Linked DNA regions of Homo sapiens: all the other regions are linked to region 1. The links are contacts of gene promoters, found by promoter capture Hi-C in blood cells and fetal thymus (Javierre and others, 2016). All regions are on one chromosome and are shown on one strand. The core of a region is centred on a gene start or on the middle of the fragment in contact, and the rest is flanking DNA. Distances in the headings are between cores, read along the strand shown.

What was found. The method cuts DNA at HindIII sites, captures the fragments that hold promoters and counts their contacts. A CHiCAGO score of 5 or more calls a contact.
Region 2: a fragment that was not itself captured here is called in contact with the fragment with the promoter of LMOD2 in region 1 in 4 of 17 cell types (erythroblasts, activated CD4 T cells, naive CD8 T cells and 1 more); the score reaches 6.7 in erythroblasts.
Region 3: a contact is called between a fragment that was not itself captured here and the fragment with the promoter of LMOD2 in region 1, in 15 of 17 cell types (megakaryocytes, fetal thymus, naive CD4 T cells and 12 more). The highest score is 12.2, in megakaryocytes.
Region 4: a fragment that was not itself captured here is called in contact with the fragment with the promoter of LMOD2 in region 1 in 1 of 17 cell types (total CD8 T cells); the score reaches 5.0 in total CD8 T cells.

Annotation. Positions count from the first base shown.
Region 1 is chr7:123,654,112-123,657,608 of GRCh38, reverse strand. LMOD2 (leiomodin 2) reads right to left here and starts at 1,743. Exons shown (of 3, transcript NM_207163.3): 1 at 1,373-1,743. The coding sequence starts at 1,645. The HindIII fragment of the contact is 9,966 bases long and covers 1-3,497 here.
Region 2 is chr7:123,887,624-123,891,120 of GRCh38, reverse strand. No RefSeq gene overlaps it. Among named protein-coding and RNA genes, the nearest start is that of SPAM1, 36 kb to the left of the region's middle. The HindIII fragment of the contact is 2,104 bases long and covers 676-2,779 here.
Region 3 is chr7:123,866,705-123,870,201 of GRCh38, reverse strand. HYAL4 (hyaluronidase 4) reads right to left here. Exons shown (of 5, transcript NM_012269.3): 3 at 975-1,979. The coding sequence starts at 1,928. Among named protein-coding and RNA genes, the nearest start is that of HYAL4, 23 kb to the right of the region's middle. The HindIII fragment of the contact is 477 bases long and covers 1,424-1,900 here.
Region 4 is chr7:123,805,444-123,808,940 of GRCh38, reverse strand. It overlaps a transcript of HYAL4 not described here. Among named protein-coding and RNA genes, the nearest start is that of HYAL4, 38 kb to the left of the region's middle. The HindIII fragment of the contact is 178 bases long and covers 1,878-2,055 here.

The sequences.
Region 1 (3,497 bases), core at 494-2,993:
AAAAAAAAATCCCTCTTAAAACAATGGTTGTGGAGGAATTGACCTGCCCAAGTACTGACTTGTATGTGTCCTTCCTTCTAACACACCCCTTCTAGCTGATTAGTACTGTGGCCTTGGCAGACCCTGGCCAGATCCCAGTGGCCCTTCCTGCAATGATTGACGTGGACAAAACTCACACATATCTTGCTGCAATTGTGGCCAAGATAACCCTATCATCAAGATCATCTAACAGCCCTAGATTAGTACTGTGGAAGTCTTGCCATTGGCTTTAGGCCATTTTGATTTTAGATGATTCCAACAGAGTGCAAGGGTTTTAAACTGTTTCTCCTGACCTATGTTCTTCCATAATTCCGGAAGAATTTTTTTTTTGTTATATGGACACTTTATTGTCATTACTGTTTTCCCAGAGAATAATAGTCTTTTGGACTTCCTTCTGGTATTGACTCATTTGGCAAATTCAAAATAACTGTTTACTGGGCAGTACACAAGAGCTTTATAGGCCTGAGCTCTGATATAAGCACATTTCCTAACCTCAGGATCACCATCGTAAAGGAGACAGAAATCGAAGAGATCATCTATACAGCTGTGCTGCCCCTGAGTCCTCAGATGGGTTTCAGGATGTGTTATCATTTTGAAATTCTATGCAAAAGTTGGTGTATTTTGCACAAGCCCAGGGCTATTTTCTTAAGAAGGTTCATAACTTATCAAAATCTCAAAGGGGTTCTTGATTCGCAAAAGAAACACTGTCTCTAACTCCCTCAATGTCCAGAGGGAAAGAGAACCCTGTAAAAGTGATTGTTCAAGGTCTAAAGATGTGGGAACAGAGCAGGGACTCATAACAAGGCCCTGTGACTCTCAGTGTCATGTACTTCCCACCACCCCACACTTCTTGGTATTGGAAAAGAACTATTTCACCATAGCTACTATCACAGTCAAAGCAACCAGCGTTCCCACTTTTGTCTTTATAGGAGAAAATAAATGTACTTAACTGAAAAAAAAGTATACATTTATACGTATGCATGTATCTTGGGAACAAATATTATGCCACATTACCAACATATAGCTCAAACAACACTTATGTTTGGCAAAATATTGAATCCCATACACTGATTGTGAATTATTTTCCTCTTGAGCTTTCTATTTGTAATCAATCAAAGAGCCCCAATTAAGAATTTTACATATTATGATCCATTGGGTGGCCATAGCATTTACATGATTATTTCAGCCTGAAAAATGATTTAGTAGCAAGTATAAATGGGTTATAGGAAAATTCAAGTGATGAGGATTGAGAAGTTAGGGAAAACAAGTGTCTGGGTTTGGGATGGGGTGATGGGGAGGTGGGGTTAGCCAAGGAAAAGTCCCGAGAGCCTACCTTTCCACATTCCCCCAGCCTCTCCTTCTCCAAGAGTTTTTGGGACTCCTTTTCCCAATAGGCCATCAGTGCCTCTCTGCTGAATGTCCCTGTGGGGGTTTTCTCTGTCAGGCTCTTTTGCCTTAGCCCCACGGGAAGGTTGCGGTCAGGTTCAATGTCTTCCAACTCTCTCTCTAGCTCCTTCAGCTCCTCGGCTGACAGGGAGGCGAGGAGTTCATCCTCGTCGATGGATTCGTATTTACTGAGTCCTCTTCGGTAGCCAAAGGTAGACATGGTCCCTGCTTTGTCAGACCCAGAAGGAGCTTGAAGGACCAGGCATTCAAGGCGGCCAGAAGCAGGCAGGGAGGCAAGTGGCAGGCTGGTCAACAACTGGTGCTAGGAGTGGCTGTGGGAGCCTTTTAAGAGTGGTGATACAGGGCTGTGACAATGCAGAGAGGGGTGAAGGCATGGGCTGTTTTAAGCATCAGACGTCAGCTAGACATTTGAACACAAAGAATGTCACATCGGTGGTGGATGGAGGTCTCAGAACCAGTGGGGATTATTAACATACTGGCCAGGGCCATATTTAGCTGAGTCTGATAGCTCATGAGGACAGGCAGAGTGTTTCAGATAAGGAGTAACACAGTTCTTCTCACTTTGTATTCAAACAACAGGGAAATAAAATTTATTTTGAAAATGACTTGCCACCACCTCCATGGCCATGAAAAGATTCTTTCATTATAATCTTAGGGTTGAGAAATGTCTCCACAATACTCCATGGGTAGTTATTTTGGTTCTTCTATAAACATACTGTAGGTGGTATTGATGGGGACAAAAGGTCATAATAATATAGTATTTCATAATTTTATCCTACTTTGCAGTTTACAAAGCACTTCAATAAGTTTTTCTAATCATAAATACTGTGAGATGAATAACATGATTCTCATTTATAGATGTTGGCAACTGAGGCTCTCAGAGATTAAGTGAAACGTCAGAAGTTGGAGAGCTGAAAGTACAGAGAGGTGTCTTTCTCCACTGAACGAAATGCTTCTTCCTACTCACCATGATTACTAGTAAAAATCTAGACTTGCAAATGAAACTCGAAAAATACAAATAATAATACTGGATATGATTTATTAAGGACTGACATTATGCCATTCCAGTGTTAAGCATTATCTCCTTTAATTCTACAGTCCTGTAAGGTGTACATTAGTGCCTGTACTTAACTAGTACACACTCAGAGAGGTTAAGTTACTAGCATGGGAGCACAGAGCTAAGAAGTGAGAGAGCTAGAATCTGAGCCCAGATTTGTATCTGGCCTGAAAATGGAAGAGATGCTAATTTGAAATTATATATATGACTTAATCACTACATATTATATATATACAACAAATTTTCTTATGTACTCCATACATTTGCACAAATTAAAAAAAGAAATTATATATGAGCATATTGTTGTGTATATGTTAAAATAAATCCATAGTTTATAGGACTCCATAAATATAACACCATTTTATAGATATGTAAAATCTATTAAAAATATTAATGCATACAAAAATACATTTATCAATACATGTATAGTACATGATATTCTGATTATACCTTCAGCAGCTGGTGAATATTTGGGTTGTTTCTAGCTTTGGGTTTCTACCTTTTATCTATGAATAAAGTTTCTATGAACATTTACATGCAAGTGTTTGAGTAACCTCAGGTTTTCATTTATTTTGAGTAGATATGTAGGAGCAGAATTACTGGGTTATATGGTAAATTTACTTTTTAAGAAACTGTAAAAAACTGTTTTCCGAAACGGCTGTACCAATTTACATTCCCATCAGCAATGAATGAGAGTTCCGGTTTCTCGACATCCTCACCTATTATTGCTTGTCTTTCTATTATAGTCATTTTAGAGGGTGTCAAATGATAGTTTTAATTTTCATTTCCCTAGTAAGATGTTCATCATTTCATGTGTTTATTGGCCACCTTATATCTTCTTTGGTGAAATATTTATTCAAATCTTACCTCCCCCTTTTTTAAACAACTTTTTGAGACAGGGTCTTGCTCGGTCACCCAGGCTGGAGTGCAGTGGAGTGATCATAGCTCACTGCAGCCTCAATCTCTTGCTTATGCCCATTTTAAAATTGGGTTA
Region 2 (3,497 bases), core at 478-2,977, 230 kb before region 1:
GGAGCAGCTGGAAGGCAGAACATCCAGATCTCCAGAAATCAAGAATCTCACGTTTACACTGAATCCTGGGTCCCCACAAAGAGAAAACACCACAGGACTGGACTGTGTAATGCTTCCACAGTGCACCTCACTGCAAGGACAACTTCATGCCAATCAACACACTCTAATCAGCTCATCCCTCATGGGAGCCTTATAGCTTGATGGCAAGTGTTTCTACAGTCTTCAAGTGTACAACCCTCACTTTTCTCATCTAAATGCACAAAGAAATGAGTAGCCATCTACAGTAATAACCACTCACTGCAACCACTATCAGCCCACCTTCAAAACTGCAGCTTTGCCAGGGACTTGCCAGCCATCACATACCCAAAATTCAAGTGCTCTTACAATACATATTAGCCCCTGCTACGCTCAAAAACCAAAGAGATGCTTAATGTGAGAGACAGCACAGCTTTTAGACCTGAGAGAGACCTGCCCATAATGCTTGGAACTCCATGAGGAAAATAAAAGACCCTGAAAAGGGGATATGTGGTGGCTTTTACTGTGTTCCTCAAGGATCTCAGGGTCACTAAATGTAACATAGATTTATGTAATATAAATGGTAGCAAAAAAAAAGAAGGAGTAGAAATAAATGAGAGAACAAGTCTTAGAGGACCCAATTTGAGACGATGTTAAGCTTTCCAGAAGGCCAATGAAACTTTACATTTTTTCTCAGTAAAAATTACATCAATAAGAAAAGAGATAAACAAGGATCAAACATAATTGAAAAGGGGTTTAGTTGACTGAAAAAAAAAAAGTTCCCAGGAGAGAAACATAATCCAAAAGAGAAAGAGTAGAAAGGCATATCTAGCTAGCTGGCTATCTCCTGAATATCAGCCTTTATTTGTTTGTTTTTTCTGAGACGGAGTTTCATTCTTGTTGCCCAGGCTGGAGTGCAATGGTGCGGTCCCGGCTCACTGCAACCTCCACCTCCCGGGTTCAAGCAGTTCCCCTACCTCAGCCTCCTGAGTAGCTGGGATTACAGGCATGCGCTATCATGCCAGCTAATTTTTTTATATTTTTAGTAGAGACTGGGTTTCACCATGTTGTCCAGGCTCATCTCGAACTCCTGACCTCAGGGGATCCGCCCGCTTCGGCCTCCCAAGTGCTGGGATTACAGATGTGAGCCACCACGCCCGGCCAAATATCAGCTTTTAATTAAGCTGACTTTGACCACACAGCTCTTAAAAACATCTTTTCAAATATCTTATCAGATTTTAGCCAGGAAAAACAGCCAATATTACTAGCTTTTGAACCTTTTTCTTTTAAACCATAGATAACTTTCCAAGTGACTCACCAAAACCAGTAAGTCTTAACCAAGGTTTTGACTTAACCAAGTAACCACAAGATATCTCCAAAGAGGTGCAAAATGATCCTCACAAGATGCAGAACCACCCCAAAGACAGCTAAACAACCAAGGATGTGTGAGGTGTGTCCAAGGAGGTGCAATGCCATTCTCAAAAGATCCAGAACCACCTCCAAAGACAGCTCAAATAAAGAAATGTTTTGCTAGTCACAAAGTGGGTACAAGCCACATTTTTGTCCAGCCATATTCTCTAGGGTCCCAGCTTTTCATCTGATCTACACAAAAAGGCCTGAAAGCCTTATGTGCCTCATAGAGACAGAAGACAGGAAATCAAAAACTATAAACGAAAGGGAAAAGGATTAATAACAAATGGGTACCCCAAAAGTCAAGAGTAACACAAACATCAAATCAATTTTTAAATAAACGTTTCTTCTCCCAAGTTAAAGGACTTACGTTTCCAAGCGACAGATTCCCTGACTGGCAATCAAACCCAGGACATTGTGGTAAAAACATGGCATTTTAACTACAAGATTACAAAATGGAATGTCCTTCATTGCAAACTTTTCAGGGAATTCAAGGAAGCCAGTTTGAGTGTACAAAATATTTTAACTTTGTTTTAAATCCGATTTCTGCTTTGTTTCTCTTTTTTATTAACCTTGCCAAGGGAACTTTTTAGGCCATATTCTTTTTGTATCTTTTCATAGATACCGATAGGATAAGGGTTTAAGACAGAATTCTCTAAAAAGTTAAATATAGACAATTAACTTATTTCATAAGTGAGCTAGTTCTCATACTCCCTTCCCCAAACCCCACCTGTTAACCCAATTTGGGGAGGGAAAAAGACAAATACTCTTACTACCTTTATTTGATCTGGCACCACAGGCAGCTATCTGGGAGAACTTACCTGGTTAAAAAAAAACAAAAACAAATTCTTACCTTTCTTTTCTGGCTTTTTGTCAACTGTCCCAAGATCCCATTCATAGCCCTCAGAATGAACAGAGTGATTTGTTACTAAGTGTACAGTACCAGACTGTAAGGATGAAAGGCAAACTTCCCCTTTGCCCTCTGAAAGTTTACCGAAAATTACCTGACAAAAGGCAGGAGGAGAAAAGGCATACACATTTTATTAACATGCCTAACCTCCAAATGGGGTACAAAAGTTTATTTACCCTTTTCATAGGGGAGAAAGGAAGTGGGAAATGTAGACAATTCTTTTGAGTGGTAGTACATGATAATTAGGGAGAATGAATGAACTAGGGAGACAAATTAATTTCTAAATGATTCTCTTTGGAATTTGAATGGGTCCAAGAGGCAGAAATTATCTTGTGGAAAAGTCCATTCAGTTGTGGTTGCATTCCTCAGTCTTCTTTTCTGCAATAGATAATGAGATTTCAGGGAGAGGATAGAAGGTAATTGTGTTTCTTTTGGTAATAAGCTTTCTTGGTCAGATAAGGAAGTTCCAGTCAAAAATTGTTCCCTGTACTTGGGGTTGGGGGAGGAACAAGACAATGTTAGAAGGATCTTAATTCTGAGGCTTATTTCTGAGGCCTTTTAATTTGCAAAAGCATTCAATATGCCCAAGCACTATATTTTGAGGAACTGTTTTCTGCACCCCAATGGTAGCATGTATTTATGTGTCATTCCTTTTTGTGGCAAACAATATTCCATTGTATGAAGATATTACATTTTATCCATTCATCAGTTGATGAGCATTTGGGTTGTTCTCACCTTTTCATTATTATGAATACTACTTCTATAAACATTTATGTACAAGTTTCTGTATGGACATGTATTTTCATTTACCTTGGGTATATACCTAAGGGTGGAAATGCTAGTGATGCAGGATTTTTTGCTCCTTAGTTCAGCTAAAATCCAGGCTCTTGACTCATGACCAGGGAAAATTAGACACACAGACACATTGAAGGATGAGGAGGGCAGATATATTAAGCAAAAAGAAAGCCCACAGCAAAGAAAGAAGGGGTCCTGCCAACAGGCTCCCAACTCATAGAGTGAATACCAGGCCACCACACACAAAGGTGAAGAGGCTAGGCTTCTCCCGCTGCATAAGGTGAAAATCCTTGGTGGCTCCACCCCATTTTTTCAGGGTGCATGCAGGCCCCCAGTCTGTTGCGGGCATGCCCAGGTAAGACCCTGT
Region 3 (3,497 bases), core at 413-2,912, 210 kb before region 1:
ATGCCTAGAACTCAGAACGTCTTTAACAGATATTGGTGAGTTGAAATTTGTAATGGTGGAGAAAGGAAAAATGCCTCTGTTAAAATATATTAAACCACTGGTATCCAGCAATACCTTAAAACATCACTGCATCACACATGTGAAGCCCTCCACAAGTCCTGAGTCTTCTCAATGTAGAAAGGTTACACAAAATTATCCAAATCCAAAGATTAGGCTGGGCACGGTGGCTCATGCCTGTAATCTCAGCACTTTGGGAGGCCGAGGAGGGTGGATCACCTGAGGTCAGGAGTTCAAGGCCAGCCTGTCCAACATGGTGAAACCCCGTCTTTACTAAAAGTACAAAAATTAGCTGGGTGGGGGGGGGTGAGCACCTGTAAACCCAGCTACTTGGGAGGCTGAGGCAGGAGAATCGCTTGAACCCAGGAGGTGGGGGGTGCAGTGAGCCGAGATTGCATCATTACACTCCAGCCTAGGTGACAAGAACAAAAAACTCCATCTTGAAGAAAAAAAAAAAACAAAACAAAGATTAAAATACCCACTACTTTCCCTAGAATTTTTTTGTTTAAGTGGCTAGACAATTCTGCTTCCACATGTATGAGCAAACACTCCATTTCAAAACATCCTTTTTGATTGTCTAACCTGCTCACTGCCGATCATTTCAATAACCTTCCAAAATGCCCGATTGTAAGTGAGTACAGTTAAAGTTGGTGTGCAGGAAATGTAGTCGTTGCTGGTATCTACTTTAACCCTTTCTCACCTTACTTTGTTCCTTAAGAGAATAATAATGAGTAAGATAATCAAAATTCAGTTTCCATAAATGAAGAGTCTAAATGCATGACTAGTCAAGGAAGAATTATGCTCCCATATAACAAACCATTAATTGAAATCAATTCTTCAAAGAACATAATTAACAAAGAAATGTCCTTTTAGAGATAAGGAGGAAATCCCCCACCATTGGACAAGAAGCTTCTTACCTTAGAAAGGAAAAATAAAGGTTCATCTCTGTACCCTAGCCTTGTGTAGACAAATACAGGCAGAGCATAATCATGAGATGTCATGGTGGAGATCCTCATGGATTCATGCACCCGAAATTTGGAGAAGCGCAAAATGTTTTCACTGTCTCCAAGGGATTTCCAGACACCGATAGAAGGATATAAAGCAGCACTGCTGTTCCAGAGCCAAGAGAGCTCATTGTTCCTCAAGACTTCGTCTTCTGGGCATGACCCAGAGTAGTTTGGGGCATAAACGTTATAATTGTGGCAATCAGGATATAAATAATAACCCCAAAGGCCTTTGGGTCGGCTCTTAATTCCCAATTTGATGGTTTCCTTCATGAAAGCTTTTGCACTTTCTTCAAAGGTCACTTTGGCTAAATATTCAATATCGGTAGCTGATACATTCTTTCCCATATCGGAAATAAGCTTTCTTGACTTCTGTCTGTAAACATCTTTTGAGTTCCAGTTCCGGGCCCACTGTGGTCGCCAATATTCCCAATCTATAACAGCAAGTCCACTGAAATCTTCAGCAGGGATGTAATAATTAATATCTTGGTCAGCTTTTTCCAGATGTACTTGTAAACTTATGTTCTGTGGGAGACCTCCATTAATGGGGACCCCTTGTGATGTATACCACGGATAGTATCCCAATCTGTTGACATAAAATATAGTGACATTTTGCCCCCTGGCCTTGGCCAGTGGGCTTCCAATCACAGGAAACATTTTCAAATTTAGTCTTAAATTATATTTTATCAAACACTGATCTGTTGGAGCATTCCAAGCAGCTATAAAAGGTTTCCTTTGATAAATTGGAAGTCGAGCAGGTTTTAGACAAGAGATAGACTTTAGAATAAAAAATATAAGGAGCCATGAAGTGAGATGTACTGGTTGAACAACACAAAGCTTTAACTGTCCTTCAGATAATACTTTCATGGTAAGATAAAAATGTTACGTTATCTTCTGCTTTAGTGCACTCTAGAAGACCTGTGGAGAGATTTAATTTTCTGTTAGTCATAGTTTTGAGGAAAAAGACTCAAATAATAAATAGATATTATTATTATATATGACTATTTGTAAAGTGTATCACTTAAAGGTCTCAAAGAGGCCTATAAATAAATTGAGATATAGAAGCATATGTAGAGACCTAGCTTCTATTCAGGGGCAGGAAATGCAATTCAACAAACATTCATGGAGCACCAGACCCCATGTCCAGAAAACAAAATGAATAAGATGTAGTCCTTGCCTTTAAGGAGTTCATGATCAGATAAAGATGTGAAATAATATTTACCATCATTTTGCAAAACTCATCAAATCCCAGGCATTGTGCTTAACTGCTTTGTAAATATTTTTTTTAAACTTGTAATAACTACATAAGGCTTATAATTACATTTCCATTTTACAAATGGGGAAACTGAGGCTTAGAGAGATGAAAAGGCTTGCCTGATGTCACTTTATATGGAAGGCAAGGTGATGTAAAATTTAAATAATAAAAATGCATAACAAGTACTACATGATAATTTATTGGAGCAATTACTTCTTGGAGTAAGCAGTAGGTAGGAATGGAAAGGAAAGTGATTTGAGTGGCAAGAAATTAAAACCAGCCCAACTATCCCAAAGAATAGATGTTTTGGGTTTCTTCTGAATAAACTTAGAAATTGACCCTCCCAGGGTAAAACTTAAGAAAGTTATATTTGTCTTATCTGGGTTCCTTTCTCGGTAAACCAACCATCAAGCCTCCCAGAATGTTTCAAGGAACTGAAACTTACCAGATTATCACATCTAAACAATGAGACACCAGATGCCTCACTCATCATGATTGCCTAACTGACCACTTGCCTGTTGACCAAGTCCTCTTTCTTACCCTTCCTTAATTCCTGTTTTCCCACACATAGTTACTTTTCTTCCCTACTTTATAGACCCCAAATTTTAGTTGCTTGGGGAGATGGATTCCAGACTGATCCTTTATTCTCCTTGGCTGCAGCACCCAAATAAGGCCTTCTTCCCCAGCAATACTCCTTGACTCAGTGATTGGCTTTCTCTGCAGCAAGCAACAGGACCTAGACCAAACCCCTGGTGTAACAGAATGTCTCAGGGAAGACACTGGAGTTAAAAGAGAAGATAGAGCCAGGCAGGGTGGCTCACGCCTATAATCCCAGCACTTTGGTGAGGCCGAGATGGTCACAAGGTCAAGAGATCAAGACCATCCTGGCCAACATGGGGAAACCCCATCTCTACCAAAAATACAAAAATTAGCTTGGCGTGGTGGCACATGCCTGTAGTCCCAGCTACTGAGGAGGCTGAGGCAGGAGAATCGCTTCAACCTGGGAGGTGGCGGTTGCAGTGAACCAAGATCACACCACTGCCCTCCAGCCTGGCAACAGAGCGAGACTCAGTCTCAAAAAAAAAAAAAAAAAAAAGAGAGAGAAAGAGAAGATAGGTAGGTGTTTGGATAGTAGAAGAGGGAAGACGATAGTGGCTACTTTGTCAAGTTATTTTTTAGTC
Region 4 (3,497 bases), core at 717-3,216, 150 kb before region 1:
GGGAGATGATTTGGAAGGCTCCGCCCTCATGAATGTGATTAGTGCCTTTATTACAAAGGCCCCAGAGAATGGCCTTTACCCCTTCCACCATGTGAGGAAACAGTGAAAAGGTGCTCCAACTAAGGAGCAGGCCCTCACCAGACACCAAATCTATTGGGACCTTGATTGTGGACTTCTCAGCCTCCAGAACTGTGAGAAATAAATTTCTGTTGTTTATAAGCCATCCAGTTTAAGATATTTTTGTTATAGCAGCCTGAACAGACTAAGACCATTGGTATCTTAGACATTCTGTAGTGGGAAGATCTAGAGAGAAAGGGCATCAGCTTTCTGTCTAGATCTGTCAGAGTTCTATGAGGTCTCTTTTCAGTTCTGCCAAGGACAGCGTCCAAAATGAGCATGAGGCTTTACCATGCTTTTTTTCATACATTTTCTGCCACTGAAATGTGAACCTACTGAGATGGTCTAAACCAGAAAATACACACACACACACACACACACACACACACACACACACACACACACGTGATGATACATATAAAATATGTGTGCATGCGTGTGTGTGTGTGTGTACACATTTCTATGCAACCGGGAATTTCATTCTTTCCACTCAAGGATAGCAAGTCTTATCAGGGAAACACATTCTTATGTACTATGAAATCATCAATCACTAAGTTCATTATGATAAAGCATTGTTAAACCTAGGACCCAGTAAAAAAAATCACATTGGAATTTGCAAGAACTTTTAATCAACAAAGGTTTACATATATACCATAAAGCCTTTTGTAATGTATTATCAGGCATTCCAAGCAAAGATGAGATTTTCTTTTATGGAGGGTCTTGTTTGCACGAAAGCTTGAGCCCTGGCTGGGCAACTATAGTACCTCATGCCTGTAATCACACCACTTTGGGGGGCCGAGGTGGGAGTATTGTTTGAGCCCAAGAAGTTGAGACCATCCTGGGAAACACAGTGGGAGTCTGTCTCTACAAAATAATAATAATAATAATAATAATAATAATAATAATAATTATCCAGCTAAAAATATTAGCTGGATGTGGTGGCATGCACTTGAAGTCTTAGCTACTCAGAAGGCTAAGGCAGGAGGATCACTTGAGTCTGGGAGGTTGAGGCTACCGCGAACTATGATCATGCCACTGCACTCCAGCCTGGGTGACAGAATGAGACCCTGTCTTCAAAAATACATAAAAAATAGGCCAGGCACCTTGAGAGGCTGAGCACCTTGAGAGGCCAAGGCAGGTGGATCACCTAAGTTCAGGAGTTCGAGACCAGCCTAACCAACATGGTGAAAACCTATCTCTACTAAAAATACAAAAATTAGCCAGGCGTGGCAGCACACACCTGTAATCCCAGCTACTCAGGAGGCTGAGGCAGGAAAATTGCTTGAACCTGAAAGGCAGAGGTTGCAGTGAGCTGAGGCAGAGGTTGCACCACTGCCCTCCAGCCTGGGTGACAGAGCGAGACTCTGTCTCAAAAAAAAAAAAAAAAAAAACCATAAAAAGTAAAAGTAAAATTAAGTCAAAAAATTTTTTAAAAGGAAGTTTGAACTCTAATGATGACATCCAGCATTGATCAATTTTTTTCAAACCTGCACATTATTTATGGTTTTAGTTTTCTCAAAGAGATAATAGTAGTAGCTTTTATGAAAAGAAAAAGAAGAGAAATATTGATTAAAGCAGACTTGATACAAAAAAGCATTTTGCTCAAGTTTGCCTGTATTTTAAATTTCTGATGAGAAATTTAAAGCCAGGTCAGTTCAGATTAGATTCTTTTCGAAGAAATAAATGATTCTCTAAAAAGTCTATGAGGTTTATAACTCCTTCAGAAATAAGCAGGGAAATTGCTATATATCACATAAGCTTTAAATCTGGGGAAAAGAAATTGTATGCAGTAATGTAATTTTCCCCCAAAAGGTCCAGGAGCTGGGGTAACTGTAGGACATCTATAAGGATCAACTGAAGGACTTCCTGTGGAATAACTAGGCCAATCCTGTCCCTTCCCATTCCCTAAGTACTAGGAGTACCTGACTGAGTGAAGCTTTTTCACTAGCCTGAAGCCTTGAGCACTGCTTTCTAAAAAGTGGTGTGACCATCTGGAGACAGCTACTAGCCTGGCCACTGAGGTGAAAGGAAGAGAGAGAGACAGAAGGAGTACGAGAGAAATGGAAAGCAAGGGCCGGGCGTGGTGGCTCATGCCTGTAATCTCAGCACTTTGGGAGGCTGGGTTGGATGGATCACCTGAGGTTGGGAGTTTGAGACCAGCCTGACCAACATGGAGAAATCCCATCTCTACTGAAAAAAAAAAAAATACAAAATTACTTGGGCGTGGTGGCGCATGCTTGTAATCCCAGCTACTTAGGAGGCTGAGGCAGGAGAATCGCTTGAACCTGTGAGGCAGAGGTTGCGGTGAGCCAAGATCCCACCATTGCACTCCAGGCTGGACAACAAGAGTGAAACTCCGTCCCAAAAAAAAAAGGAAAGCAAGATTATGGCTACATCAGACTGCCACACTAAGGAGTAATGGAGAAATTGGCAGTATTTCCCAAGAATGAGCTACACTAAATACACTAAAGCCTCCACACGAAAGGAAAACCTTCATTACTTTGGCAAGGTTGGGGCCTCCTTTCTGCCTACCTAAAGCCCACCTATGGAACTTACTTTGGTTTCAGCATCCTCCTTTCCCCTCCATGTTCCAAGGCCAGCTGCTCCCAGTGCAACACTCTCACCTCATCAATAATTTGATTGATCTCTGTATGTACTATTATGCCAGCCTCATCTTGTCTTGATTATTTCAGTTTTGTTGATGAGTCTTGAAATCAGATGGTATAACTCCTTCAACTTTATGTTTCTTTTGCAAAATTGTTTTGGATACTCTAGATCCTTTGCATTTCCATATATATTTTATTTTATTTACTCATTTATTTATTTTTTCGGACGGAGTCTCCCTGTTGTCACCCAAGCTGGAGTACAGTGGCTCAATCTCGCCTCACTGCAATCTCTACCTCCCGGGTTCAAGTGATTCTCCCGCTTCAGCCTCCAAGTAGCTGGGATTACAGGTGCCTGCCACTACGCCCGGCCTATATTTTAAAATAGACCAGTCATTTCTACCAAAAAAGCCTGCTGATTCTTTTACTGCAATTTCTGCCTTTTAACTGGTGTGTTTATGTAATATAATAAATATATTACATAATGTAACAATTAGTACAGTGGATTTTGAGTCTATGATCTTACTTCTTATTTTCATTTTGTATCTTCTCTTTTTTATTAAATATCATGCCTTTCTTGCTCTTTCACTTTATCTACTGCCTCCATCATTCTATTTCTTTTTTATTATGTTGTTAGTAGTTGTTCTGGGACTGATAATATAACTTAAATTATCAATGTCTACCTAGCTTCAGTATTACTGTTATTCACACTTTACATTTCATACCTATCACTTTCCACTTCCCACTTTTCAATTCTCACTTCCCCCTTCACATTTT